5 separate regions of the Homo sapiens genome follow, and regions 2, 3, 4 and 5 are each linked to region 1. Evidence: promoter capture Hi-C in 16 types of primary human blood cells and fetal thymus (Javierre and others, 2016). All regions are on one chromosome and are shown on one strand. Each heading gives the region's core, a stretch centred on a gene start or on the middle of the fragment in contact. The rest is flanking DNA. Distances are from core to core; before and after follow the strand shown.

What was found. Contacts are between HindIII fragments. The CHiCAGO score rates a contact against its expected background, and 5 or more counts as called.
Region 2: a fragment that was not itself captured here is called in contact with the fragment with the promoter of MIR1915HG in region 1 in 7 of 17 cell types (fetal thymus, non-activated CD4 T cells, activated CD4 T cells and 4 more); the score reaches 8.5 in fetal thymus.
Region 3: a fragment that was not itself captured here is called in contact with the fragment with the promoter of MIR1915HG in region 1 in 6 of 17 cell types (total CD8 T cells, activated CD4 T cells, non-activated CD4 T cells and 3 more); the score reaches 7.3 in total CD8 T cells.
Region 4: a contact is called between a fragment that was not itself captured here and the fragment with the promoter of MIR1915HG in region 1, in 9 of 17 cell types (naive CD4 T cells, activated CD4 T cells, non-activated CD4 T cells and 6 more). The highest score is 13.0, in naive CD4 T cells.
Region 5: a contact is called between a fragment that was not itself captured here and the fragment with the promoter of MIR1915HG in region 1, in 1 of 17 cell types (activated CD4 T cells). The highest score is 5.6, in activated CD4 T cells.

Annotation. Positions count from the first base shown.
Region 1 is chr10:21,494,523-21,500,104 of GRCh38, reverse strand. It overlaps MIR1915HG (MIR1915 host gene), which reads left to right and starts at 2,845. Exons shown (of 2, transcript NR_160800.1): 1 at 2,845-3,355; 2 at 4,160-5,582. MIR1915 (microRNA 1915) reads left to right here and starts at 3,464; the gene lies at 3,464-3,543. RefSeq lists silencers at 3,365-3,614, 3,825-3,874, 3,925-4,364, 5,178-5,277 and an enhancer at 4,789-5,582. The HindIII fragment of the contact is 8,649 bases long and covers 1-5,582 here.
Region 2 is chr10:21,995,043-22,000,624 of GRCh38, reverse strand. All of the region lies in intron 1 of DNAJC1 (DnaJ heat shock protein family (Hsp40) member C1), which reads left to right. Among named protein-coding and RNA genes, the nearest start is that of DNAJC1, 5.9 kb to the left of the region's middle. The HindIII fragment of the contact is 6,758 bases long and covers 1-5,582 here.
Region 3 is chr10:21,975,019-21,980,600 of GRCh38, reverse strand. The region is part of intron 1 of DNAJC1 (DnaJ heat shock protein family (Hsp40) member C1); the gene reads left to right. Among named protein-coding and RNA genes, the nearest start is that of DNAJC1, 26 kb to the left of the region's middle. The HindIII fragment of the contact is 406 bases long and covers 2,542-2,947 here.
Region 4 is chr10:21,955,281-21,960,862 of GRCh38, reverse strand. The region is part of intron 1 of DNAJC1 (DnaJ heat shock protein family (Hsp40) member C1); the gene reads left to right. Among named protein-coding and RNA genes, the nearest start is that of DNAJC1, 46 kb to the left of the region's middle. The HindIII fragment of the contact is 7,617 bases long and covers 1-5,582 here.
Region 5 is chr10:21,925,591-21,931,172 of GRCh38, reverse strand. It overlaps DNAJC1 (DnaJ heat shock protein family (Hsp40) member C1), which reads left to right. Exons shown (of 12, transcript NM_022365.4): 2 at 2,032-2,133; 3 at 2,621-2,667. Among named protein-coding and RNA genes, the nearest start is that of DNAJC1, 75 kb to the left of the region's middle. The HindIII fragment of the contact is 270 bases long and covers 2,874-3,143 here.

The sequences.
Region 1 (5,582 bases), core at 1,596-4,095:
GTGCTGCCAACGTGAGCACCCAGCACCTGAGCGGCTGTCGCGATTTTGGAGGAATCCCGATCTGAGAGCCCAGAACTGGGACATTGGTGCGTGCCTCCTTGCCCACAGCCCTCTAGGTGCAACACGCCAGCGACAATTTTTCCCAGGAAATCCGTCCCTGCGCCCCGGCCCCCCTCCAAGGATGTCCTCGCAGGAGCCGGGCTCCGCACTGGGAGGCTTCAGGGAACGGAGCACTGGGGCTCAAAGCCTCCACGAGTTAAGCTGATTATTAATTTGGGCTGGTGGGAGCCAGTAACACGCTCGACGCCTTTGGCTTTGGGAATTGTCCGGGAGCTGGGACGGAGGCAGGAATGACCCAGGGTTGCGACTGGGAAATGCGAGTTGCGGAGGCTCCCGGACGTAGCTGAGTGGGCTGGGTAGAACTCCCAGGGCAAAGGTTGGCTCTTCCTCGCCCCCAAATAAATTCTTAGTTAACTAGTTTAGACTAAACACATTAATAGTATTAAGTGGTGAAAATAGACAGGGTTGAACGTGGGGGCATGTCAACTGGACCCAGACCTGGTCATACTTCTCCTCTGGTGACAAATCAGGGTGCTTCCAACACGAAAACAGAAAATAGAAATGTAACATTCAACTGGACGAATTAATTTTTGACGGATTTACGGTATGATTTCCTTTCAAGCAGTATTCATTGGTTCTTTCCATCCACAGTGCGGTCCAAAGACAGAAATATAAACAAGCACTTTATGCTTTGCGGAAACCCCTTAACAGTATCTCCCAAAGAAAGATCAAGACACTTTGTGAATTTTCCCCAGATAATGCCTCATATTCCGAATGACTGATCAGAGAACTCCGGTATTGTTAAATAAAATGAGAGGAAGGCGAGTGACGTGGGAGTCGAACAATGGCATTTCTGAATCTGTTTGCTTGATTGACATTTGGGAGCTTCATGACCCCAGAGAATAGGACTCATTACGGTGAATACACCAAAACATCAACCAAGATTAGAACTCTAGATGCTGTTTTAATCCCATTCCAGTCCAAATTATAGTGGGAAAATATAAAATCCAAGTGCAGAGAATCACTCCGTTATATATTGACCTAAAGTTTTAATTGTACTAAGGGGGAAATAAAAGTGGAAACCCTCTATACTTTCCAGAATTTTAGATAGAGCACTGACAGGGAAAATGCATGGATTTGGTAGCGGAGGTACTAAGAATATTTGTGTGGTATACAACATGTCATACTTGGGAGACACTTTATTGGAAAAATAAGTAGAGAGTTTTTTGTATGTATGAGAAAAATATCATAACCATTTCCACTTAAAAAGTGAAGATCATTCTGATGCCCCAAAATAACTGAGGCTAAGAAATAATTAGATACCTTAAAGCTACAGTCTAAATTTCCATGACTGTTTGGAAGACTTCTCTCCAACGCGGGAGGGGAATTTGTTTTTTAATGTCAAAGGTTGTGTTAGCATGTACATTTAACCCAGGAAATTGTGAGAACTCTCTTCAACTCAAGTTGGAAAAAGGGAATGTGTTTGAGCAAAGTCTATTTTTAACAACAGAAAAGTGTGAGTTAAAGTGGACTGTGTGTTAGGTTGGGAATATAATCCATGGCAACTTCACTATACAAGTATTTTTGATTCTTCAGTGGAACTCATCCTCAAATTTTAGTAACTTGAAAAATTGAAGTCTTAAGTATTGTGTATTAAACTGAACCAAGAGATCACAGAAAGACAAAGCTATGGTAAAAGATGTTATAGTTATATTCTCATAGATTTAGTAGGAAAATCACAGCAAAGGAAATGCACCAGGAAGATATGAAATAGAGGAAATATGTTACAAATAATGAAATAGAAGGAGTTGCTGCACAATATAGCTTCACAATCTTATATTTTGAGGGGTAGGTTTTAATGAGAAGCCTCTGCATTGCATGGGAACTGGGAGTCGTAAGAATTATTTATGCAGTAAGAAGGAAAAAAATTAATTATTAGGAGCTCAATAATCACCAAATAAACTCTGAGCTTGGAGGTTAAAAATAGACGGCTATCTTCATGTTCAATTATACAGTATCAATTACTAATACAACTGATGTTTCAGTGTCTCAGCGAGAACAGATACCATCTTCTATGGAGATATCTTGGTATTAATTAATGACTGCTTTATTCTCATTATTCACAAGGAAAAATAGGGGTCGTGTCACATTAAAATTAAGATTATCTTAGTTTATCTGGGCTCTTAAACAAAGATCATTCAAAGTAATTATACTTTGAATTAATCGAGGTAGGCAATTTATCTCGTTATTTTTTTTTGTTCAAAGACAGGAAAATAAAGATCAGAAATAAGCAAAGTTTCATTTTGAAGATAGAAAGAACCAAACAAACATGTCTTGACTTTTGCAGTATTTCCCTTGCTAAAGGGGGAATGAGGGAACTGTAAAAGACGTGACTTTGCAAAGTCAAGTCCTTTTTAAAAGACTCGGATCGAAATTCTTGCTATGCAACAAGGATTCAAGTTTGATTAATTTTCTGCAAGCGACGTGACAGCGGTGTTTTAAAAGATTAATTAAAATTGAAGTGATACGGAGCAGGAATTCAACCTGCAGAGGCGTCCCTGGCGCCTTGGGGGGCTTTGTAAGCGAGTCCCAAGCCCGAACTGCGGGCTTTCCCGAGCCTGGGACGCAACTCCCCGTCTCCTGGAGAGGAACGCGGAATTTGGCAGGGCGCCCGCCTGGCCGCCTGGCATCCTGAGCTGGCCGCCAGCTCTCGGGGGGTGGGGACTGGGTGTGTCCTGGGGAACCCGCTGCCGAGAGAGCAGCTAGCGCAGCTCGCGACGAGCCATTGAGGACCAGGGTCGCGCCGAGAGGCCGGAGGGGGCTCCAGGCAGCCTGGAGCTGACGGCGCCGGGCTGCGTCCTCTTCACCTGGGGGTGGGGGGTGGGGGCACGTACTTTGTGACCAGGATGGTGCCGAGCCCCCTCTACGGCGGGAGCTTGCAGGGGTGCGGGGGTGTGACTGGCGCTCCGCGGACTCGTGTCCACAGTACAGAGGACATGTAGGGTTCGGCCGGGGCGCGGCTGCACCGGGGCCTGCCTCGCGGACCTGGACTCGGGACTCCGGGCGGCCCTGCCTGGTGCCATTGCCTCAGCCAAGTCTCCCACCTCTCTGCTCGGTTTCCCGCCCCACCTTTCCCCTACTACCGCATCCCTGTCCCCTCGCTTCCCTCCGCGATGTCTCCATCCGAGTAAGAAACGAAGCTGAACGCATTGGTAACTGTGCTCAAGAAGATGCAATCGCGGGAGCCCTCAGGGTGGCGCACGGCGGAGAGGCGACGCGGGTGGCGCTGCAGAGGGTACGGTGGGGGGCGGGGAAGAGGGGGGCGTTCGTGTGCAATTAGCCTCCCCAGGGCGCGGACCACGGTGTCCCCTTCTCTCCAGCTGGGGGTCTCGGGTCCTGGCGCTGAGAGGCCGCACCTTGCCTTGCTGCCCGGGCCGTGCACCCGTGGGCCCCAGGGCGACGCGGCGGGGGCGGCCCTAGCGACCTGCGGCGGCGCCGGGAAAGCCCTGCCTCTGCAGCGGGTCCCAGGGGTCGGGGCCTGGAAGGGTCCCTGGGAATGCTCCGCGCCGAGAAGGCTCTGTGGTTTCTCCTCCCCCACACGTCTCCCTCTCCTCCCCTCTTCCCGGGGACCTCAGAGGTGGCGGGGAAGTGGGAAGGGAGGCGGGCTTGCAGACCGTGCAGGCTGGGGAGCCGGAGCTCGGGAGTTGGGGGAGTCCGAGTGAGAACGGAAGCGCGTGGACGCGATGGAAGGGGCCGGGGGAAAGGGGGACGGCACTGGGGAGGGCTGGGGTGCGGGGCAGGCGACAGTCCCTTCCCCTCCGAGCGGCGCGGGGGACCTCTTCCCCGGGGAACCCCCACCCAGCCGTTCCCAACCTCGAGAACAAAGGGTCTGGGAAGCACGGTCGGGGTCGGGGAGCGGAGGTGGAGGGAGGCAGGAAGGCAGGCGGTGGGGGCAGGGGAGGGCGCCTCCCCACGTTTCCTCTCGCGGCCGAATGATGGAAAGCTCCCTCCAGCAAACGCCTCACTGAGGCCGCTTCTGAATCCGGGAGGGTTCGGGTTCGTTACCTAACGGCTGCACTTCGCTCCCTTCCTCCCCCAGCGTCCCCACCCCCTCCGGGGACCGGGGCCCCGGAGCTGCCAGGCCCGCTGCACGCGGCGGCGCGGGAGAAACCACGGGGCAGCAGCGCCCCCTGCAGGTGCCGGGCGCCTCCGCAGCCGCTGCGCGGACCCGACTCTTAAGGTGGCACCACCGGGTTCCCAGCCCGCGCGCAACCCGCAGCCCTGGCTCCATCCGCCGCACTTCTCCCTGTAGCGGCGGGCCTGACCGTCCGGAACGGCCGGAGTGTGCTGATGCCTGCTGCTATCTGCTTGATCCCTTCACCCTACCTCTCATCCAGGACTTCTTCCGCGGATGCGCAGCTAGCGATTTCGACAGGCGAGATTGAAAATTCCGGGCGAGTATATGAGGTTGAGTAAGTCCCGCTTCAGGGAGGAACGACCAGAATGACATTTCTTTAAGCCTAAATCAAACTTTTATTTTCGTTTATAAAAAGCAGAAGGCCAGCAGGAAAGGGTCGCGGAGGACTGGCACATCCACAACCGTAGGACTCTTGGATCCAAGTTTTTAGGCTGAGACTGGGCGGTCCGGGGTTCTCCTTCGGCGCTCACACCCCGCAAACTCGTGGGCAGTGCAGTGCTGGAGGCCGGGGGCAGTGGCGGACCCGCAGGGTAACCTTGTCTCGCGCACCTCCCGAGCCCCCAGCAGCCCACTCTCGTCCGAATGCTTTGTTTATTTGGTGACACCAGGGAACGTGGAGAAGAAGATCGAAGTTCAGTTTTTCTTTTTTCTTTATTTTAAATATTTTTCTTAACTAAATGGTATGTTTATGTGAACCCATCATCTCTTGGAATTAAGTGTCCTCAGCGAACTCCAGATTCCTAGGGGAAACCTACGTGCCCAGAGCAGGAAACGCACAAGTCAATTCAGGTTCCGGTGCCATCCGCAGTAAATTCCCTTCCTTTTGCTCCAAATTCCTCCTCTGCGTCCAGGAGAGGGACCCCCGGGACTCCCGCACACCCAGGACCGGGAGCGGCAGAGCAGAGGGCGGGTGCGAGGGCGCGAGGGAAGGGAGGCGGCCTGCGGACCTGGGGCGCGCAGTTTCCCGGCTCCGTGGGAACCTCCAACCCCGGGGCGCGCGGCCTAGGCTCCGCCCTGCCAGGCTTGGGGCCGAGCGGCCCACCTAGTGGGTCCTGACCTGGGGAAGCCGAGTCCGCGCGCGGGTCGGGCCGCGACGAGGGAAGCTCGCCTGGGCAAGTGCCGCGCGGGGTCAGACCCACCCCAGGGGTTGCAAACCGCAAGCGAAAGTCGAGAGGGGCTGGAGCTTTCCCTCTGATCCGTTTTACACTGTGAAAACCGCAGGCCTGTCGCCTAGGCGGCCACTTTTAAATTGGGAAGCAAATAGACGAAAAACCAAAACAAACGTACGAGCTGACTTTTCCCAGCTAAGTTTCCCCTCAATAAA
Region 2 (5,582 bases), core at 1,676-4,175, 500 kb before region 1:
AAAAACATTCAGACCATAGCATGGTAGAAGGACATTCAAGGAAGAGCAGACAGTAAGCACAAAGGCCAGGAGGCAAGAGCTTGCTTAGCGTTTGAGGAATAGCAAGGCAGGCAGTGTGGCTGGAGCAGAGTGATCAAGGAAAACAGTAATGGGAGAACAGCAATAGGAGACAAGATCTGAGTCATAGGTGGTAAGGGAAGACCATGTAGGGCTTTGTAGGCCATTGTAAGGACTTCGGCTTTTACTTATAAGTAAGTTGGGGGAGGTGGTGTTTGAACAGAAAAGATACATGATTTGACTTGAATTTCAAAATGATCTCTTTAGTGTACTGAGTATAGTCTGTGAGGCATTAGTTACTTAGAGGGATAATTGTGGTATAGATTGGACCTGGGTGGTAGCAGTGGAGGTGGTGCAAAATGGTCAGATTCTGGATTGAATTTCAACATGGAGCAAACAGAATTTTACTGATGGCTTGAATGTGGTATGCGAGAGAAAAAGAGAAACTGAAGATAATTCTAAAGATTTTTGGCTTCAGTAACTGGAAGGATGCAATTGCCATTTGTTGAGATGGAGAAACCTGGACTAGGAGCCTGGTTTGGAGAACATCAGGAATTTGGTTTACGGACATGCTAAATTTGGGGTGTCTGTTAAACGTTGAAGTTGAGCTGGTATGTAGGCAATTGGTTATTCAGGTGTAGAGTTACAAGAAGAAAGTTTAGGGCTGTAGATAGGAATTTGGGAGTCCGAGGCACTTAGAGAGTAACTTGAAGCCACAAAACTGGATGAGTTCACCAAGGGAGTGAACGTAAAAGAGAAGAGAAGAGATCTGGGAGCTAATAAGCCTTGGGGATTCCAGACTTTAAGAGTCAAGGAGCCGGGTGTGGTGGCTCACGCCTGTAATCCCAGCACTTTGGGAGGCTGAGGCGGGTGGATCACGAGGTCAGGAGTTCAAGACCAGCCTGGCCAACATGGTAAAACCCCGTTTCTACTAAAAAGATAAAAATTAGCCAGGCGTGGTGGCAGGCGCCTGGAATCCCAGCTACTCGGGAGGCTGAGGTAGAGAACTGCTTGAACCCGGGAGGCGGAGGTTGCAGTGAGCCAAGATTGTGCCACTGCACTCCAGCCTGGGCGACAGAGCGAGACTCCGTCTCAAAAAAAAAAAAAAAAAAAAAAGAGTCAAGAAGATGGAGGGGAATCAACAAAGAAGATAGAGCAGGAACGACCAGTAAGGTAGGAGGCAAACCAATACAAGGTTCTCTTCAGTCAAGTGAAAAAAGTGTTTCAAAGACAAAGGGATCAGCTGGGTTAAATGATGATGATGATTCAAATAAGATGAGCTTTGAGACTTCACCGTTGGAATTAACCGTATGGCGGTCACAGGCTACCTCAGTAAGAACTGTTTTGGTGAAGTGGTGAGTTCAGTAGTCTGGGTAGATTGGGTTCAGGAGAGAATGAAAGGGAAGAATTGGAGACAATTAATATAGAACATTCTTTTGAGATATCCATATCCTAAACTAGAAGGCAGAGATGGTAGTGACTGTCTGTGGCATCTTCTTTATCCCCTTATCCACCAGGTATAAGATAACTCAGTTACTCTCTAAGCTCTATAATCTGAATAACAGATGACTTAGAACTTGGACCAGACCACCTTATGACCTTGGACAAGTTAGTTGCCTCATTTTTAGGACAGATGGTAGCTTTTTATTTTCTTCATAGTAAGGCACATAGTAAACACCTAAATATTTATTGAATCAAACATTATAAACATTGTAACTAAATGCAAACTGTAATTCCCCAAACAAGTAGTTGCTTGACAGTTTTTACTCAACAGATTTTACTTCTATGTAATCTTTCACAGCCTTCAGGCAGCAGAAGAATCTTCTTCCATGTATCCTTAGATTTCACGTCCATTCTAGAAGTCTAGAAAGGGGTTGCAGAAGTCTTTGTTGGGGGGTATATACAGATGATTTATTAGTCATTCATACCATGTTTAGAATGACTTTAATAATAGGGCACTCCAATTTGGATATTGCATCTTTTCAGAGGAGATGGGGGGAAGATGAGAGAGGAGTGTAGGAAAAAAGATGTGCTATTGAAAGATCTTTCGTTACCATCTTAAATTATAGGTTCCTGCACAGTATTTATATTTTGTGTAACAGCACCTGCTTCTCAGACACCTGTACTTCTTGTGGGGTCAGTGGCAATTCTGTATTTCTTTTTTTTTTTTTTTTTTTTGAGATGGAGTCTTGCTCTGTCGCCCAGGCTGGAGTGCAGTGGCGCGATCTTGGCTCATTGCAACCTCTGCCTCCTGGGTTCACGCGATTCTCCTGCCTCAGCCTCCCGAGTAGCTGGGATTACAGGCACCTGCCACCATGCCTGGCTAATTTTGTATTTTTAGTAGAGATGGGGTTTCGCCATGTTGGTCAGGCCGATCTTGCACTCCTGACCTCAGGTGATCCACCCACCTCGGCCTCCCAAAGTGTTGGGATTACAGGCGTGAACCACTGCGCCCAGCCTCTATATTTCTTTTAATTGTCTTTTGGGACCATGACTTTCCTTATCCTTTGTATACAGTAATTCTAGCCAACAGTAAACACTTCATATTCATTTAAAAAAATCTGTGAATTGAAATAATGACAAGCTAAATTATCTTAAATTTTGTAGTATTTACTTTATGCTGAAGTCAAGATTTGTCTTCATGGTGCCAGTCAGTCATTACAGACTTCTATTTATGTAGCTAGAAAATGTGCTTCATTCTCTTTCTCTCGTGTTTTATAACTAAATCCTTATATTCAAATGAATGCTGAAACTTGGTTAACAGAAGAAAAGCAGAAGAACAGGGATGTGCTTATAAAATATTTGGATTTTAATTTTTAGATAGGAATTAATAAACCTTTTAAGCTCATTCGGCCTGTATTTTCAAATGTACAGATTAGCTAGCCTGTTTAGAGGAGGGACAATTATTGCCCATTCATCCGTGCCCCATGGTTGGGAGGAACTTCCCTAAAAAAACACCACTGATCACTAGACCCATCTCTAACATCTTACCATGGCGGTGTGAGTTACCTTACTGGAGGGTGATTGCCTTTGCTCTGTTTTGCTTGATTAGGAAGAGCTGATCAGTCAGAAAGCTATGAGTAGTGGGAATCAGTCTCTTTGCACCTCTCTGCCCAGACCAGTAAGGCAATTATCCTAACCAGACTTACCCTTGAGCATACTGTCTCAAAGTCTAGAATGTAGAGGAGAGGGCACAAATTGCTAGCAAGCCCATTTGGCCATCACATTTAACCTGTATTCTTCAATAGCTGTATCAGTTATAAAGGTTCATCTCTTGTCTGCCCGACTCCTGTGTCCACTCAGTTTTTTGGATGGGAAAAACCAGTTAATGGGGCCTCCCTAAAGCCCATCACAGTCCTTTTTAGAAATGAAGATGATGATTTCATTCATGAATGATGGTGAATTTGTACTGTGATTATCAATTTTGTCCAGTGATTCTTGCAGTGGAATCCACTGAGCTTGTGGTGTTGAGTGTAGTTCAGTCTTTCTCTGTGGAGTCTATTCCTTTGTACATGTGTGTTGTGTAATAATAGCTTCCCCATTTTTATTGTAGAATCCAATTTTTTTTAATTTGGAGAAAGAGATACACAGAATCTAGAATGGTAGATAACCTTTCAGTCATTTATATTTCTGATGTAGGCATGCATAGCGTTAGAGCTGAATAAGTACTTGTTTAATTGTATACATCTTTGCATCAGATAGAATTATCATAAAATTAGTTTTCTTATGTACACACTCTTTTTGTGATATGTATAGTTTAGTGGAAGATGCCTGAGCCAATTTTATGGGATAAAGCAAGTCTATTGTGAAAATTTTGCCACATATAATCTAGAGCTGATGGAACAGAGACTTTCTTTTAGTTTTAAGTTTCCTTTTTCCTTTTATGCTATTCTCAGTTTTTTCTTTACACTAATTATGAGAACACTCTTAGAATATTGTATCTTTTGTTATTCATAGACAATAGCCTAAGTTGAACTGGGAAAGTGGAATGGCTTCTGCTATTACAATTATTCCTAGAAATATATTCTAAAACGTTATATGGGTTACCAGTTTACCTAGTGATTGGTTTAATGTGGTTAATTTCACAATCATATTTTGTTCAATGTTGAGAATAAAACAGAGGTTGAGGTTATTTGACTTGATTGCTGAGAGGAGAATTTATATGGCAGTTGTAAGTAATGCCAATAAAAGTTGTTTGATAAAATGCCTAGTGTCTGTAATAAACCTTTTCTCAGCTTTGTTATGCTCTCTCTCAGTGAACTGCTTATTCCATAAATGGTACTATGTGACTTTCAGAACTGTTTTCCACTGTGGGCATTATTGGGTCTGTTTAGACAGTAATGATACCAGTTAATTCCACCTAGTTGAAAACAATTCCAAAGCCTTTCTTACAGAGTTATACAAAAATAAAGGAAAGGAATTGCAGTGGAAAGAGAGATTTCTGATTGGATGAAGCAGGACCCTAGATCATTTTATAATGAAGTCACAGTCATATTTTCAAAAATCTTTATTTTCATCAAAACACTTAATTGTAAAAGATGGGCCCTATACTAATGAATGTAAAAATATGATTACATGTTTTAAATAACAGCATAGTATTTCATTTTAAGAACTGAATAGTTGATATTTGAGTATTACTTATATTTACTGAAATTTTTTGTCTAAGCGTGTCATAAGGACCTAATTAGAAATTTAATCTAGAATTTATGTTTCATTTCCCATCTTATGTAATACTAAATTAAGCAAGGTGAGGATTCATTCACCATATTTGATAAGTGTTTCTGATTACATCATCCAGCAACTGAAATCTCACATGTAACCAGGCATATTGCAAAAGCAAGGGCATGCCACGTTCTACATTTTTGTTAGAATATGTGTATAAAACAGTATACTTCATTATCAGATGGATGCCTGTTTTATTGCTACTGAGGCAGTAGGCATTAAGCTCTGTGCAGCTACACAGTTAACTAATATATTTGAGTTGCTTAATATTAAAGCTAATAATCTAAGATCAAGAATTAAAGGACATGCCATAGTATATGCAGCAGTGTTAAAATGGAGAAGAGCAACGTTAAGATGCCACTAAGAGCAAATACTAGAATTCTAAAATGACGTAATTTCCTTGGTTAAACACATTCTGGAATACATACAACTCCTGGTTATAGAAGGAAATAGAATTTTAAACTGTTACATGAAACTCAACTGTGGCCTGTATAGTGAGCAGTAGTCAAAATGAGTTATGACCAGAAAGAAAAAGATCATTGTTGCCATTTACTGGGAAAGTATGAATAGACCATGAAGAAATCTTAGGGTCCGTACACATGAGGAAGGTAGAAACTTCTTATTTCTAGTCAATACTTAAGGACTTTATTTATACCATTAAAACAGGTCAGGTTAAGGAATCTATTCCATGACCAACTGAATTTATACTTTAAAAAGAAACCTCTGACTTTTAGAAAATTTTTTTTAATTGCAAATCTTATTGGCAGTTATTTTCAATTACCACACTTTTCGTTAACAGATAA
Region 3 (5,582 bases), core at 1,495-3,994, 480 kb before region 1:
CCTTTTCCTGGTGCAGAATCACACATTTAGTTGTTTTATCTCATTTATGTCCACTCTGGGACAGTTCCTCAGTCTTTCTTGACCTTGACACTTTTGGAGAATATTGGACAGTTATATTTTAAAGTGTCCCACAGTTTGGGTTTGTCTAATATTTCCTCATGATTAAATTCAAACTATGCATGTTTGTTATAAATACTATGGAAGTGGTGTGCCCTTTTCAGTGTATTGTATCAGGAGGCACATGATATCCATATATCTCATCACAGATGATGTTAACTTTGATCATTTGGTTAAGTGTCTGCCAGGTTTCTCCACCGTAAAATTACTATTTTCTCTTTGTTAATTTCTTTGTAGGAAATTACTTCTTAATGGACAGAACTAGGAAATATATGTGTGTATATGTGTATATAGTTTGTTCAATATCTGGATTTTGTGCCTGTTTTTGTTCACTGCCATTTCTAGCACTTGTTTAGCCCTGTGGTCAGTAGATATTTGTAGCTAATAATATAGAATAGTGTAAAGTTAGACTAGATAACCTAAGGACTTTCCAGCCCCGCAACTCTGTTAATGTTTTGATTCTGGAAAAATAAGCTGGGGAACAAGACAAAAATAAACTCTGAACAGGATTCATAATAAGCAGAATGCAAAAGTCATAGGACTTTTGACTGCAAAAGTCATAGGAGCAGACATATGCAGTTTTGACATATGACTGCAAAAGTCATAGGAGCAGAAAGCTTTGATTATTATCAAAAACAATGAAGGTGTCAAAGGCCTGGAACAAAGTTTGCTGTGGGTAGGTAAGAAAGAGAAGCTTGATAATCGTTTTATCCATTGTACCTTAGCCGGATTGACTTGCAGAAGGTAAAGCCATGGTGAAAAAAAAAAAAAGAAAAATTATAAATAAGGATATCTCCTTTACAGGTATTCTGTCTTTAGTTTACTTTCCATTATTTCTTACTTTATCCAGGTAGACCAGATCCAAGTACATGTATTCCCACTGTAAAACCATATATGGCTTCATATTCTGCAAAGTCACACCCTAAAAATAACAGTACCTATGGGAAAAATAGGGTTGAGGTACAGCGTTCAAAATCTGTGGAACCTTATAAGCACTCATGAAAATAATAATACTTTAAAAAATCAATTAAATCTCCTCTAGCATTTTAACCTGGCATCATAGTTCTTAAAATCCTTTAAACCCTTGTTCTCATGCTTCCTTATTTGGGATATAGATTCTTTAGATCAGTTGAATAAAAATACATATGATTCAGATAAGAGCCCTTTTGAAAATGAAGGAAATGTCTTTGCAGCTTCTTGAGCTGCACTCAGAGATTGATCAGATAGCTTTACATAGTAGAAACCATAGAAGTTCTTGAAGCCACAAAACCAGCTACTACTTATATTAATAGAAGGCACGTCTAATAGATTTCTAGCTGGTTTTTTTTAAAAGATCTTCATATTTTACTAAGGTTTTGTCTTTAATTGCAAGAAAACTTATCTTGGATCATTAAAAAAAAATGAATGTGCCAGGGGAAAAAAAAATCAAGTCGAACTTACATACCTAACTCTGCATTATAAGAATATCATTCCGCTGTTTACTAATTGTATATAAGATCATTCAAATTAAAAAAGTCATAGAGGTAATTAATCTGTAATAATCTGAGTAACCGATTACACCTCAGTGACAGTGTGTTTAGCCAGAGTCGGTATTTCCTATATATGTATTTTTTATAGCCTTAGATGTTTCTGATAACATTGTATAAACATATCACTTACTGAATTTACAGACTCTGAATAAATGGTGGCTTCATGATACAGTTTTTAAAAGTATTTTTACCTTAGGATTCTTGGGTCTTGTATCAGCTCTTGTGGGAAGTTTGTGTATGTTTCCAGTCTTTTCCCTCTTTTTCCTGTGACTCATTCTACTTCTTCATCTACTTTAGTAGTCACTAGCACTGCCAGGTTTTGTGGAATCTTTGACAGAAATGTAGGATTCCTGCCTTTTACATACAGGAAATAATTTGATAGTATTGGAAGACAAAATGTAATCAACTGATAGACTGCCACATGTTGTCTGTAAATACTAGGCCTGTGTGTGCTATTCCCTAGCATTGTCTGGCTTTACTGAAAGCACTTCAAGCTTAAGAAATTGCTGACCCCTGTCTTACTAGGTTCTGAGCCAATCTTTTCACTTGCTAATCGACTTTCCCACTTTACTGAAAGGAGAGGCTTTCAAATTCTATACTTTATCAGTGTATTAGTTCTACAAAATGTTGCTTCAAGAAATAATGGAAATTCTTAAAGAGTTTGCATGTTGTTGCATGTTTCTCTCTCCCTCTGTTCAAATTTCCCTCTTGATGGAGATGTGCTTCTGGGTGACTGGTTGCCAGGAACTTTTATGTTCATAAGTACTTTTTGAATATTGTATTACCTATTTAAAAAGTTAAGAAAAATCTATATATATTTGGATGATGAGGAATGAGATAGATGGAAGAACTTGTGAGGAGTGAAAGAGCTTTAGGAAGAGAAACTATTGAAGCTTATCTAAATTACAAAATAAGTCAAATGCTCCTATATAAAAAACAGACATTCTTATTGTTAAAAAACTTTTTGCTGTTAAATATCATCTAAATATTGGTTTGATGTACAAATGTAGAAAAATATCTTGGGCATAGATTTTTTTTCCCTTGTCACTTTGAAAAGAAATTTACTTATTATTTTTCTGTAGGTTTTTCAAAGAATTTTTATATTAGACAATCACATCAGCTTTCCAAAAGAGAGAAAACACTGATTAGGAACCCTCACTATCCAGGTGGGGAAGTGGGGATTTAAAATAATATAATGTTCATATGCAGGGTTGCACTATAACATAAGCCTCCTGACTCTTAACTTAAATATGTATTGGATGTGTTAAGATGTTTTTCTTTTATTTAATGTGAAAAAAGCTTAATAATTGACTGTTGGCGCCTGGGCATGTATATTTTGGTCCCCTGCACTGGGAATCAATTCTAAACTCAAGTTCAAAATTGGCTTCTGGAATTAGGGTGTTCAGCCTATAAATAGAGAGATATCTGTACTTCTTTAAGCCACACAAGTCTTTTCTTGGGTTTAGTTAGTAATTACTACTTTGGGAAATTATTTCTCCTTTAGAGTTGTTATTTTGATTCATATTTTAGTTCACGTGGATGTCTACAAAATAAGGAGTAAATTCTTGAAGAAAACCTGCTAATAGTTGTTTTATAGAAACTGAGCTTTGTAGATTAATTAGACTATCTAAATTGCAGCTTTTAGCTACATAATAAAAGTTTACTTGCATAGTCATTTTGTGTGTGTGTGTGTGTTTTTTTCATTTCTTAAGTGTGGTAGTTTTCTTTTTAAAAAATTGCTAAGATAAGGTCTTGAATGTTGTTCTGGTATTTAAGTACTGAGTCCTAGGATTCTACTTTTGTGTTTGTGAGAATTGCCGGGAGAGTAAGAGGCCAGCAGTGTGAGTGTCCACCATGTTCTCTACCTACGTACAAAGAAGCCTTAGTATGCTCTGACTCATTGATGAGAGCAAATTGGAGACTGTCACTGCTTTTTGCTTCTGTTGCTTACCATTGGCCCCATTGCCCCTTTACTGATGCTACTTGTTTTGATTGGTTGCTTTTGCAATGTTTGTGCTGTTGTTGTTACGGAAGAAAAGAGAAATAGGGGAGCCTAGTGGGTGGGCCGGCGGCATTCAAGAAGACTTAGAGAAAGGCAGAAGCTGCAGTGTTTGTCTCTTCCTCCACTGATTTTAACATGGCCACAGGAGTCATTAAACATAGCCTCTGTAGCATAAGGAAGGCAGAATTCTCTAGCTCGTTTGCGTTTTGTTGCTTAGTGGGAAGAGCTGAGAAAAAAAACAGAACTGGAAAACATCGCTTACTCCTAAAATGCAAGGGTAACCTTTTCAGACTTCTGTTGATTTTTGATGGGTTAAGAAATACAGTATGTACATATTCCTTTTAACTCTCCCCCACTAATATGGTCTGTTGGCATTTTCCTATTATTTGACTAGCGTCTTAGGAATTATTACTACAAAGATTCAGTGACAAATAACTGGCCAGAAGAAGATGTGGCATGTAATTTCAGATGACAGTGGGATGATGTTGGTACTTTCAGGACCTGTGGGTAGTAGGGAAAAGACAGTGTAACAGTTAATAAATGTTTGTATGGATTGCCTTAGTTTACGACTGAACAATCACATGCTTTTATTATTGGCCCTACCTCATAGAATCAAAGCCTTTTACATATGCCAACATTTTACAATATGTTCATTACCAAATGTTGCATGCCTGGTTGGTATATACTTTTCTAGATTTTGTAGGCTATGTAAAAATTTGATCCTGGTTCTCAAATATGGATAAAGAAGATACATGACTGTATTTTGGAATCAGGAAGATGAATACAGTTTCCAGCAATAAATCTATTACTGTCTTTTGAAAAAAAATCTTATTGTATGGTCCTTCAAGATTCAAAGTTTCTCTTAAAAGTAATAAACTGTAATATAGATAAAGCTGCTTATGCAGCAGCTAATTTATGGACCTCTTCAGTGCATTTTAAGATTTCCCTATTATATTTTTGCCCATCTAAATATGTTACTCTTTCCCTAATTTTCCCATAATTTATCTAGAAGAAACTTGAGGTGAATCTAACTTTTTAAAAAAACCTTTAGGCCAAAAAAGTTGAATAGTAATCAATTCATAGTTTAATGAAGGACATGTGTAGTTTGAGTTTCTGGATAACCTCTCTTCCTTTGAAAGTGTTTCTTAATTAAAACCAGATGAGAGCAGCAAAGAAGGTATTCAGAACACTAAGTAAAATTAATGTGCTTCATGGAATTTGCAGAATTCATCAATACATGTAACAATGATTTATAATTGCATTTGGTCCTAACACTTATCAGTGTAGATCTAACAGAGGGACAGTAAGTAAGATAGCTAGTATGAAACACTAAGGTGAAAGGGTTAATTGGCCTTGCACAGTTCAATTTGCCACTCTAGTGGCACTTTCTATTGTCTGTGTAAACAGAGTTGCTAAGTACTTTCCCGCTAAGCTGCCACCCTTTTATTTATACAGTTGAACCACCAATGAGGAATGGATCAGTTTACCAGTTGTTAGGCCTTTTCTTCCTGCCTTTTCAGCCCACTTCATGTTTTTTCCCCCAGCTATTGCTATATACCTCCCTAATAATTCCTTAGTCTGTGATTTTGGTCTCTCTCTCTCACTCTCTTTCTCATTTATTTATTTATTTATTTATTGCAGCTTATTTTTTTCTCATATTCATTGATTTGAGCATTGGGATATTAATAACCTGGTTCTACTCCTTTATACCTCATTTCTTCTCGCCTCTACTCCCATTTTACCAAGTAAATTCTCAGAACTTGCTGCAACTCTTTCAAATAACTATTTTAAAGTAACATTTAAATAGCTCTTCAAAAATGAAAACATTACATATATAATGCTGAAGTCCTCTTTAACCAGCCTATACTGTATGAGTACCCCTAGTCCACTGTGAGTTAATATATTAAAATATATACTTCCATACCATTTTCATA
Region 4 (5,582 bases), core at 1,059-3,558, 460 kb before region 1:
TTCTTACATATGTATACATGTGCCACGGTGCCTTTGCCTATTTTTTAATTGGATTGTTTGTCTTTTTGTTGTTGAGTTGTAGGAGTTCTTTATGTATTCTGGATATTAACTCCTTACCAGACATATGATTTGCAAATATTTTTCTCCTTCTGTAGTTTTCACTGTTTGTTTGGAGGCAGGGTCTTCCCTCTGTCCTCTGGGCTGGAGTGCAGCAGTGCAACTTTGGCTTACTGCAGCCTCAACCTCCAGGGCTCAAGTGATCCTCCCACTTCAGCCTCCAAGTACCATGCTTGGCTAATATCTGTAATTTTTTTGTCGGGACAAGGTCTCACTATGTGGGCCAGGCTGGTCTTTAACTCCTGGGCTCAAGTAATGCTCCTATCTCAGTCTCCTAAAGTGCTGTGATAATAGGCACCCGGCCTTAGTTGTCACTTTCTTGATTGTTTCCTTTAATGCTGTTTGTTTTCTATATCTTACATGTTTTTATTCCCGAATTCTTCAATTACTGCCTGTTTTTGTATTTAGTTGATTTTTTAAATGGTGTACTATTTTGATTCTGTTCTTTCCTGTTATTTTCTTAGTGGTTATCTAGATTAAATTAAACTAGGTTGTTACAAGTTTAAGATGTTAATTGTAATTCCTAAGATAACCACTAAGGAGTTTGGCTTTTGATCTGAGTAAAATGGAAAACCATTGGAGGCTTTTAACTGCATCTGTTTTTTGTTTTAATCTCTATGCTGTGCTGAAAATAGACTGTTAAGAGAAGGTGCCAGGCAGGGGCTGAAGTTGGGAGATACGTTAGATTTTGTAATAATCCAGGCAAAAAATCATAGTGGCTTGGCCCATTGTGGTAATGGTAAGGGTGTTAGTATTCAGATTCTGAGTATGCTTTTGATAGTAGACCCAACAAGACTTATTAATGAATTGAATGTGGACTGTGAGAGAAAGAGGAGTCAAAAGTGACACCAAAATTTTTGGGAGATGGAGTTACATTTGGAGATAACATTACAGATTTTAGGAGATCTGTATAAAATGGATTTCTCTCTTCTTTTTTTTTTTTTTGTTTTTGTTTTTTTTGAGATGGAGTCTCCCTCTGTCGCCTAGGCTGAAGTGAAGCGGCACTATCCCGGCTCACTGCAACCTCTGCCTCCCAGGTCCAAGTGATTCTCCTGCCTTGGCCTCCCGGGTAGCTGGGACTACAGGCACCTGCCACCAAGCTCAGCTCATTTTTGTATTTTCAGTAGAGACAGAGTTTCACCATTTTGGCCAGGCTGGTCTCAAACTCCTGACCTCAGGTGATCTGCATGGCTTCCCAAAGTGCTGGGATCACAGGCATGAGCCACAGTGCTTGGCCGGATTTCTCATCAGTGTTTTAAAAATGTATTCCACATTCAGGAGAAACTAAAACATCTCGAGGATATAATATGTTCAGTGTGGCTGGGCGCAGTAGCTCATACCTGTACTCCTAGCACTTTGGGAGGCTGAGGCAGGCAGATCACTTGAGGTCAGGAGTTCAAAACCAGCCTGGCCAACATGGTGAAACCCCGTCTCTATTAAAAATACAAAAAAAATTAGCCGGGCCTGGTGGCAGACACCTGTAATCCCAGCTACTCAGGAGGCTAAGGCAAGAGAATTGCTTGAACCCGGAAGGCAGAGGTTGCAGCAAGCCAAGGTCTCACCACTGCATCCTAGCCTAGGTAACCGAGCGAGACTCCATCTCAGAAAAAAAGAAAAAAGTTCAGTATGTTGGATTTCTTGGTGTTTTGTTTTCCTGTTAAACTATCAGGATATTTAGTGGAGTTGAACTAGAAAGGCCAATTCCTCATACCTTCCATGCATTCTGTACTGAGAAACCGGGCTGTTGAGAGTAAAGATTGTTAAATATTAAAAGAGCATAAACTGGTAAAAGGAAGAGAAGGAAGGGTAGGAAGTAAAGAAGGAGAAGGAGCTCTGTTATATTCAAAATGTTCTTACCAAATGAACAAAGCATGTTAATAACTTTTAGAAAGAAGTTCAACAGCAAAATTTTTCTGCAAAAAAAATAGTGATTTTTTTTTCTGCCAAATCTGACGTTTAAATATATCAGAAAAACCTCATCCCTTCCATTTATATGAAATGCCTAGAAAAGGCAAATCTGGGCCAGGCGCGGTGGCTCACTCCTGTAATCCCAGCACTTTGGGAGGCCGAGGCAGGTGGATCACGAGGTGAGGAGATCGAGACTGTCCTGGCTAACACGGTGAAACCCCGTCTCTACTAAAAATACGAAAAATTAGCTGGGCGTGGTGGCACGCACTGTAGTCCTAGCTACTGAGAAGGCTGAGGAAGGAGAATCGCTTGAGCCCAGGAGGCGGAGGTTGCAGTGACCGAGATCGCGCCACTGCACTCCAGCCTGGGCAACAGAACGAGACTCCGTCTCAAAAAAAAAAAAAAAGACAAATCTGTGGAGACAGGTACAAGGAATCTTTTTGGGTTGATGGAAATATTCTAAAACTAGATTATCGTGATGTTGCAGAACTATATAAATGTACTAAAAATCACTAAACACTTAAAACAGGTGACTCTTATGGTTTGTAAATTATACTTAAATAAAGCTGTTAAAAATACATAAATACCAGAAAGAAAGAAAAAAACCTTCATTTCTCAATCATTTGGATTAAAATTTTATTAGTATTATATGGAGAAATTTTGGTTGAACTTTTTAACTCCATTATAGTTTTAGTTTCAGGTTTCTACTTATATGTTTCTGTTTTAAAATAGTATATATTTAATACAATGGTATTCTCAATTATATGCTTCTAATAAAAAGCCAAATCCTTGGTAAAACCAGTGTTAGGTAGCATATCTTATATGAAACTGAATATTACAGTAAAGCCCAGTAGAGAAATATGTGAATGGACAGAAGCAGGTATTATGAGCCTGTTTTAATATAAGAAAGGTATTTTGCTTAATAATAGTACATTAAGTTTGCCGTCACTTAATGTACCATCACTTAAAGAAAGTGGAACATTTCTACATGTACACATATATGAAAGTAAGCACATTTTTAAAAAAATATTGAGAAGTATATGTACCAAACTGATGATAATTACTTCTGTTGAGAGAATGAGGCTTTGAAGAAGAATGTATGTATTTATTTATTCATGTGTTACTTGTGTAATTGACAGAAAGCAAAGTATAAAGAGACTAAATAACTGAAAAGGAAAAAAGATGAGTAAAGCCTAAATAATGGCCGTGGTGATAGAGAAGAAAGTAAACACATGAAAAATGTTTAGTTGCCAATTTGATATAGTACAGAACTATTGCAAAGATCAAATATGAATGGGTAAGTAGATTATACTAAATTAACTCAGTGGAGCTATAACATTACTTGACCATAAACATAAACATTACTTTATTAAATTTATGAAGTAAAATGGAAACTTTTATATATACTGACAAAAGGAAGGTACAATATAATATGTACAATTTATTTACAGCAGTAAAAACAAATAGGATAATAGAGGAAAAGAATTAAGATGACAATGAAAGTATTAATGATAAAGTTAAGTGAATAGAGGAGGCTTTATTCTTCCATGCTTTCTTTAAAGGGTTTCTGAATAATCAGAAATAAGAAACAGTGCTATAATCAGGGATTGGCAAAATACATATGGTTAAAGTTATTACAAAGAATTCTGGTCAGGCGCAGTGGCTCACACCTGTAATCCCAGCACTTTGGGAGGCCGAGGCGGGTGGATCACGAGGTCAGGAGTTCAAGACCAGCCTGGCCAAGATGGTGAAACCCTGTCTCTACTAAAAATACAAAAATTAGTCAGGTGCGGTGGCGGGTACCTGTAATCCCAGTTCCTTGGGGGGCTGAGGCAGGAGAATCACTTGAACCCGGGAGGCGGAGGTTGCAGCGAGCCGAGATCGCTGCACTGTAGCCTGGGCGACAGAGCAAAACTCTGTCTCAAAAAAAAAAAAAAAAATCTAGAAATAAGAATTGTCTGAAAAGAAAAATTTACACCTACTTGTGTGTGTGTGTGTGTGTGTGTGTGTGTGTGTGTTATGTATAAACTGTTGGAGGCTTTTAACTGCATCTGTTTTTTGTTTTAATCTGGCTGCTGTGCTGAAAATAGACTGTTGAGGCAAGGTGCCAGGTAGGGTCTGAAGCTGGGAGATATGTTAGATTTTGTAATGATCCAGGCAAAAAATTATAGTGGCTTGGCCCATTGTGGTAATGGGAGAGGTGTTTTATATATAAATAAAAATTATATTTATATAATTTATATACATATGTTTATATATGTACATAAATATGTATTTATATATGTATGTGTATTTATGTGTATGTACATAAATTTATATGTGTATATATAAGCAGCACTCTTGAAAATAATACCTCTAGTGTCCTCTTATTTAATCTATTAACTTTCAAACCTATGGTTAATTAATAATTTTTTTCTAATTAGACACAGTTATTTTTGTCATGATAGTATGATGTAAATGTATTTCCGAAAGTTTATGTGTTGGAAACTTAATCCCTAATGCAACAGTGTTGAGGTGAGACTTTTAAAAGGTGATTAGGTCATGAAGGCTCTACCCTCATGAAAGTGTTAGTGCAGTTATGGTGGGAGATGGTTAGTTATTGGGGTGGGTTCCTGGTAAAAGGATAAGTTCAGCCCTCTTCCCTTCTTTGTCCCTCGTGCTCTCTTGCCCTCTGTGTTCTGCCATGGGATGATGCAGCGAAAGGCTCTTGCCAGAAGTGGGCCCTTTGACTTTGGACTCCTCAACCTCCAGAGCTGTAAGAAATAAATCTCTGTTCTTTATAAATTACGCAGTCTCGGGTATTGTTAGAGCATCACAATACAAAGATAATGAGATTGGCCTGTATATACTGACATGAAAAGAATTCGAAGGTAAAATAAGTTTTTTCTTTAAATTTTTTAAAGTAGTTTTTAAGAATCAAGGTATTACATCTACATATTCTGTTACAACAATGCAAAACAGATGGACAAAGACACATGAATTTGTTATTTTCTATGTTAGCATGTGGGAGAGAACATAACACAATATGTGAAAATAGCTTACTTTATAAGCGTAAGCATATGGAGATGCTAATGTCAAAAAGAAAATGCTTTTCCTAAAATTTGGTTTTTAAAAAACTTAGTAAAAAACAAAATATTGTTTGATAAAATTTTAATAAAATACGATAGATTTTAAGTGTTCTCATTACAAGAAAAGTATATGAGGTAATGAAAATGTTAATTAGCTCTATTTAGCCATCCTACAATGTATGCCTGTTTCAAAACATCATGTTTATAAATATATATAATTTTTGTTATTAGAAAAATGAATCAAAAGGAAAAAATTTAATATAATACAGAAATATGTAAAGTAAAAGGTGATATTTTCATCCTTTGGCCCTCAGTCCCATTTGTCAGAGGTAATACTTTAAAAAATTTTGATGAAATTTCTGTATACACTGTATCTCCATTATTTCCAAGTTTGCTTACATAAATTTTACCTGAAGAGGTTTGCCCCTCATATAATTTTTACCTTAAATAGTAAGATGTAGAGTGTTACTATTCTAAATCATCTGTAGA
Region 5 (5,582 bases), core at 1,759-4,258, 430 kb before region 1:
AAAAAAATTGGAAAACACCAGTGACAAAGGCACCTGGTAGCTGCTCAAGGGTTTAGAGTAGGAGAGCCGTCTGACCACATTTACATTTGGGGTACATATGGTGGCAGAAAAATGGAGGATTGGGGGATCAGAATGGTAAGACTGGAAGCAGGGAAATGCCTTAGGTTACTATTAGTTGTTTTTATTTTTAAGTAAGAAATGTTCTGTAGTGAACATGTATTAATTTTGTAATAGAAAATACATAGCTATTATTTTGTATGAAATATACTTGTGGAATGGTTTATTATATAGTCCCAATTTAAAAAAATCTACAATTAAAATCCCAATTAGAGATTGGTTATTCATTTGACACTTGATGTCTTTGCTCAACAATAGGATTCATCACAGATTTTCATTAAATAATCATTTATTTCTACCACATTATCTGTAGTCTATGTAGGGAACATGTCAATTTTATTAAGCAAAGTAGAATGAAAATTACAACCATGTTACCTGCAGTACTTTAGTTAATTTTTATAGCTCCTCAGCCTTCCACAAGTCACAAAAATACTCACACCCTGGGTAACATACTAGTCTGGAGCAACAAGCCCCAGAAAACTGATAATAAAAATAATGGTTTATAAAGACAAGCCTGACAGACTAATTATAGCCTCACTTTGTCTCTCTCCAACTCTATTTAAAAACTATTGATAATATTTAGTCCCAGGTATATAGATTTTTTGTGTTGGTTTGGTTTGGTGTTTTCATCATTTGAACTTCTTAATAGTTTTTGGAATTAATTAGACAGTCAGCTATCAAATGAGAGACATTTAGTAAGCAAGTTTACTATCATTTTGCCCAATATTAATATGTTATTTTAATACACTTTAAGTTTAATACAGATCAAGTTTTAAACCCCAGCCAGGCGCGGTGGCTCACACCTGTAATCCTACACTTTGGGAGGCCGAGGCTGTTGGATCACTTGAGGTCAGGAGTTCGAGACCAGCCTGGCCAACCTGGGGAAACCCCATTTCTACTAAAAATACAAAAATTAGCTGGGTGTGGTGGCGCATGCCTATAATTCCAGCTCCTCTGGAGGCTGAGGCACAAGAATCTCTTGGACCCAGGAGGTGGAGGTTGCAGTGAGCTGAGATTGTGCCGCCGCACTCCAGCCTGGGTGGTAGAATCAGACTGTCTCAAAAAAAGTTTTAAACCCTACTTGACAGTGTATTCTTTGTTATTATTATGCATTTTATACTGGCCATGTAAAAATGATGTTGTCTGATTTTACCTGTGCACACAGGATTATATAAAATGTAATTTTAATATCCACTTAATCTAAGTACTGAACCACGGTAACCTTTTAAATATATTTAAACTATACAAGTAATACATAAATATTGGGCAAATTTATTTGTATGAACCAGACTGAGGAGGCTGGCCAACATTGAAAATACCCTTTAAAGTACTAAGTAAATAAGTATAGTATATTTAACTCTTTCTAATGATAATAATTTTTGATAAATGCTAATTTAACTCCCTTCAGATAGGCATGCTTTTTGACATGTGAAAGTGAGATTCCATAGGTTGTTGCTGAGATGATAAACTCAATATAAATAATAGAGAAACCATATGGTTAGCCCGGGATTCAGAAATTGGCTTTAACATTTGCCAGTAAATAAAGAGTTTCTTTGAAGGCACACCGATGTATTAATTTTTAATTTGTTTCTTTTTGATCTCTTAATTACTGAAAAAGATTTATTGGTTAATTTTAGGAAGGCAAGTGTTTGAAAAGTTTCGCCAAATACTGTCTTCTTTAAATGACTGTATGGTAATGAAAAGTTAAGAGGAGAGCCAAATTAGATTGAATAATTGTTCAGTCATGTGGGTCAGGCTTGTTGCATAGCCTGGTTGTTAAGACTGATTGCTCAAATTACATTGCCTGGGGTCCTGCACTTGGTTGGCTGTCTTCTCAGATCTTAACAAGGTTCTGGGAATTTCTTTTTCTGACAAAGTTTGCTTTGTATTTTCCCCTCCCCCTACCACCTCCAGGATGCATCATCTGCAGACATCAGAAAAGCATATCGTAAGCTTTCACTAACTTTACATCCAGACAAGAATAAAGATGAAAATGCAGAAACTCAGTTTAGACAAGTAAGTGAAATATGCTATTATATATATATTTTGTGACAAATGTATTAACATGTCGATGGTAGAAATATTCACTTATATATGGAATATTTTCATTTGAAAATGAGGTAGTAGTTTAAAATATAGTGTATATTTTTTTTCAAGTTTCTACAAAATGCATTTTTACTATTTTGTATTAGCATCTCTAAATTCTTGGAGGGTCATAATTGTCATAATTTTCTTGTCTAAATTACAGCTTTTGCTTCTAAATGCACATTTTAAGATAAGTATTACTTTTGTAACTGTCACAAAGATTTATTTTGATATCAAGCATTTTTAATCTCTTAAGGTACTACCAAAACATAGTGTTACTTATAAAGGAGATTTCATCTGTTTATTGTATATATAGGCACATAGGATTTTCTGCATGTGTATTGTAGTGCCTTCACCCTCCTATGTGATTTCTTATAGTTGAGAGTATTTTTATTTTAAAGTAATGCTTTTATTTTAGTTGGTGGCCATTTATGAAGTTTTAAAGGATGATGAACGAAGGCAGAGGTGAGTGTTCATTTCTGCTTTTGAATTAAGATGTTATAGTTTCATGCTACAGTTTATAAAGAATTAAGTCTTCTTAAACATTTTATTATTATGTTAGCATTTTATTTTTGTTCCTTCCGAGAAATGCAGTGTTTTAAAAATGTGTGTTTGAAGCAGAGTTAATTTTATTGAAAGTATTCACTAGATTGATTTGATACATACAAGCTTCAGGATTTTGAGTCATAATGTTAGCAAGTCCGGGCTTCCTTAATACGACTTTTAACATGAGTGTTTATGCCCTGGGAGATACAAATACTGCCTGAATTCAAATAAATGTCCATTCCTTCCCATATGTCAGTAATAGCTCCTATCTGTGCCTGATGCTTGGTGCTTTTCCCCCCCATTCCTTAAATGTTTGAATTAGACTGTAGTGATAGTCAAGTTAGTACTCTTTCTTGATATTTCCTCACTCTCAGAATAACCCAGTTATATAAGCTTCTGTAAGCCTGTAGAAGAAAGAAAACTTTGCCTCTTGCATCTATTTCTTTTGCCTCCTTCCCTTCCTTTACTCTGCTCCGGCAATTCTGCATTCAGGGTTAAACTTCAGAGTGGAGGTAGCCCCTCACTCTAAGACTTCTCTGTGCCCCTTTCAGAAGACTGGCAATATATTTATGTAGTAGTTTATAATGCCAGTGACTTAAGAGGAGATTACACAGAGGCCCCTTTCCTCTACTCCTACAGAATGTATGGAATGTAGACATCATTTCAGCAGCCTTCTAAGTTTTTTAAGTCAGACCACAACACATACGCACACACACACACATAACTAAAACAATAGTTTCACAAGATATTTCTTATTGCATGTTAAACACATTATTTTCTATTCTAGGCTAGACTAGTCTTTTGGTGTTTTTTATTTATTTATTTTTTAAAAATGTTGGTTGTGGTTCACTAAATTCATTTCATGAGACACTAGTGGACCACAATCCAAAATTTGAAAATGTTCTACGATACAAGAGTACCTGTAAAAAACAAAACAAAACAACACCTGGCTATTTGACATTTAGGCAAAAGCCAGCCTAAATATCTGTGTCCTTCACTAGGGGGGTAATACATCTCCAGACAACCCTATAAATTGTGCTATGTTACATTCTGAATCTTTCCTCAAATGTATTATCTGGAATTAGTCTGTATCCTAAAATGTTAGCTACCATTCTTGATTCTCATCTTAACCGTTTAATTTGAATACCTCTGCTTGTCAGATTGCAAAGCACAGGGATTCAAGATCTTCTCTTAAAGTGTTCTTCACTTTATAACAAGGGCTGGCATTGGTCCAGATACCATAGCAGACATTCCTCTGGTTTGAGATAATCCATAGTGTTGAAAGAGTCCAAGAAGCGTGTTGAAAGAAGTTTTGGTCATTCTGTGCATATTTTCTAGTTGGTTTCTCTGTGAGCCCTAGTTTTGTTTCACACATCAAGAATGTGCCTGTAAAGGTAGCTTTATTTAGTTTTCTAATATTTTTGGCTTGAGGTTTTTTTCTTTTTGTTTGTTATCTTAAAAGTCAATAAACTTTGTAATTTCTTTCAGTTACCAAAATTATTTCTATCTTTTCAAAACAAATCACTTCTCATATATAAATTGTTTCTTCATTAACATGGAATCATCTATTAATAAATAACATCATCTCTTCAGGATTAGTTCTCTCATTTATTTTAGACAGTTGATAGAAAAAATGAATGTGACAGTTACACAAACAGCTGTAGTATTTATACCCCTTGAGGCACAAGTAACTCTTTGGTAACTGGTTTTCCTTGAGGCAAAAGTCTTAACTAATGAAGCTAAGAATCACTCCTCTAAAGCTTGTGCCTGAGGCCAGGTGACCTATGAGTATTTAAACATACAGGAGACAGACATCTCTGCAGACAATTACTTAATGTTTATAATTCCTTTAGGAAAAAAAAGAGCACAGTCAGCATTATCTTCTAAAAGAAGATTATCTACATATTGATATGAAAAAATGCATTTTGGTATCACAGTTATTTACTATAAATATTCATTAAATAATACTTTTAAATGTGTAACCTTCCAGGAATTGGTAATTTGGGAAATTGTCATAGACATGTTTCCTATTTATTTCCCTTTTATATAATTGTGTTTTCTCTGAAATCAGATGCATTATTTGAATTTTGCTGGAAAAGGGAATAGCAGTTAAATTGATAAATTAACAAACCAAATAACTTTTAGTTAAAAAAAAAAAAAAAAAGGAAAGGCTGGCTGGGTACAGTGGCTCACATCTGTAATCCTAGCACTTTGGGAGGCTGAGGAGGGCAGATCCCTTGAACTCAGGAGTTGGAAACCAGCTTAGGCAACATGACAAAACCTCGTCTCTGCAAAAAATACAAAAGTTAGCCTGGCGTGGTGGCACATGCCTATAGTCCCAGCTACTCAGGAGGCTGAGGTGGGAGGATTGCTTGAACCCCGGAGGCGGAAGTTGCGCACTGTGCTTAGCCTGGGCGACACAGCAAGACCCTGTCTCAAAAGAAAAAGCCAGTTTTGTTTGATTTTTTAACATCCTTATTTGGGTATAATTTGCATACAATAAAAGTCACCTGTTTTAAGTGTACAGTTAAGTGCTTTTTAGTAAATTTACAGGCTTGTGCAAACCATCATCACAGTCCAGTTTTAGAACATTTACATCATTTCAAAAAAGCTTTAGCCCATTTGCCGTAGTTCCTCACCCTGATCTCCAGCTCCAGGCAATTACTGATCGATTTAGTGTATTTATAAATTTGTCCTTTCTGGACAGTTCGTATAAATGGAATCATGCAATACGTAGTTTTTTGTATCTGGCTTCTATTAACATAAGGTTTTTGAGATTCATCCATATTGTAGCATATACCAGTAGTTCATTCTTTTCTATTGCTGAACAGTAT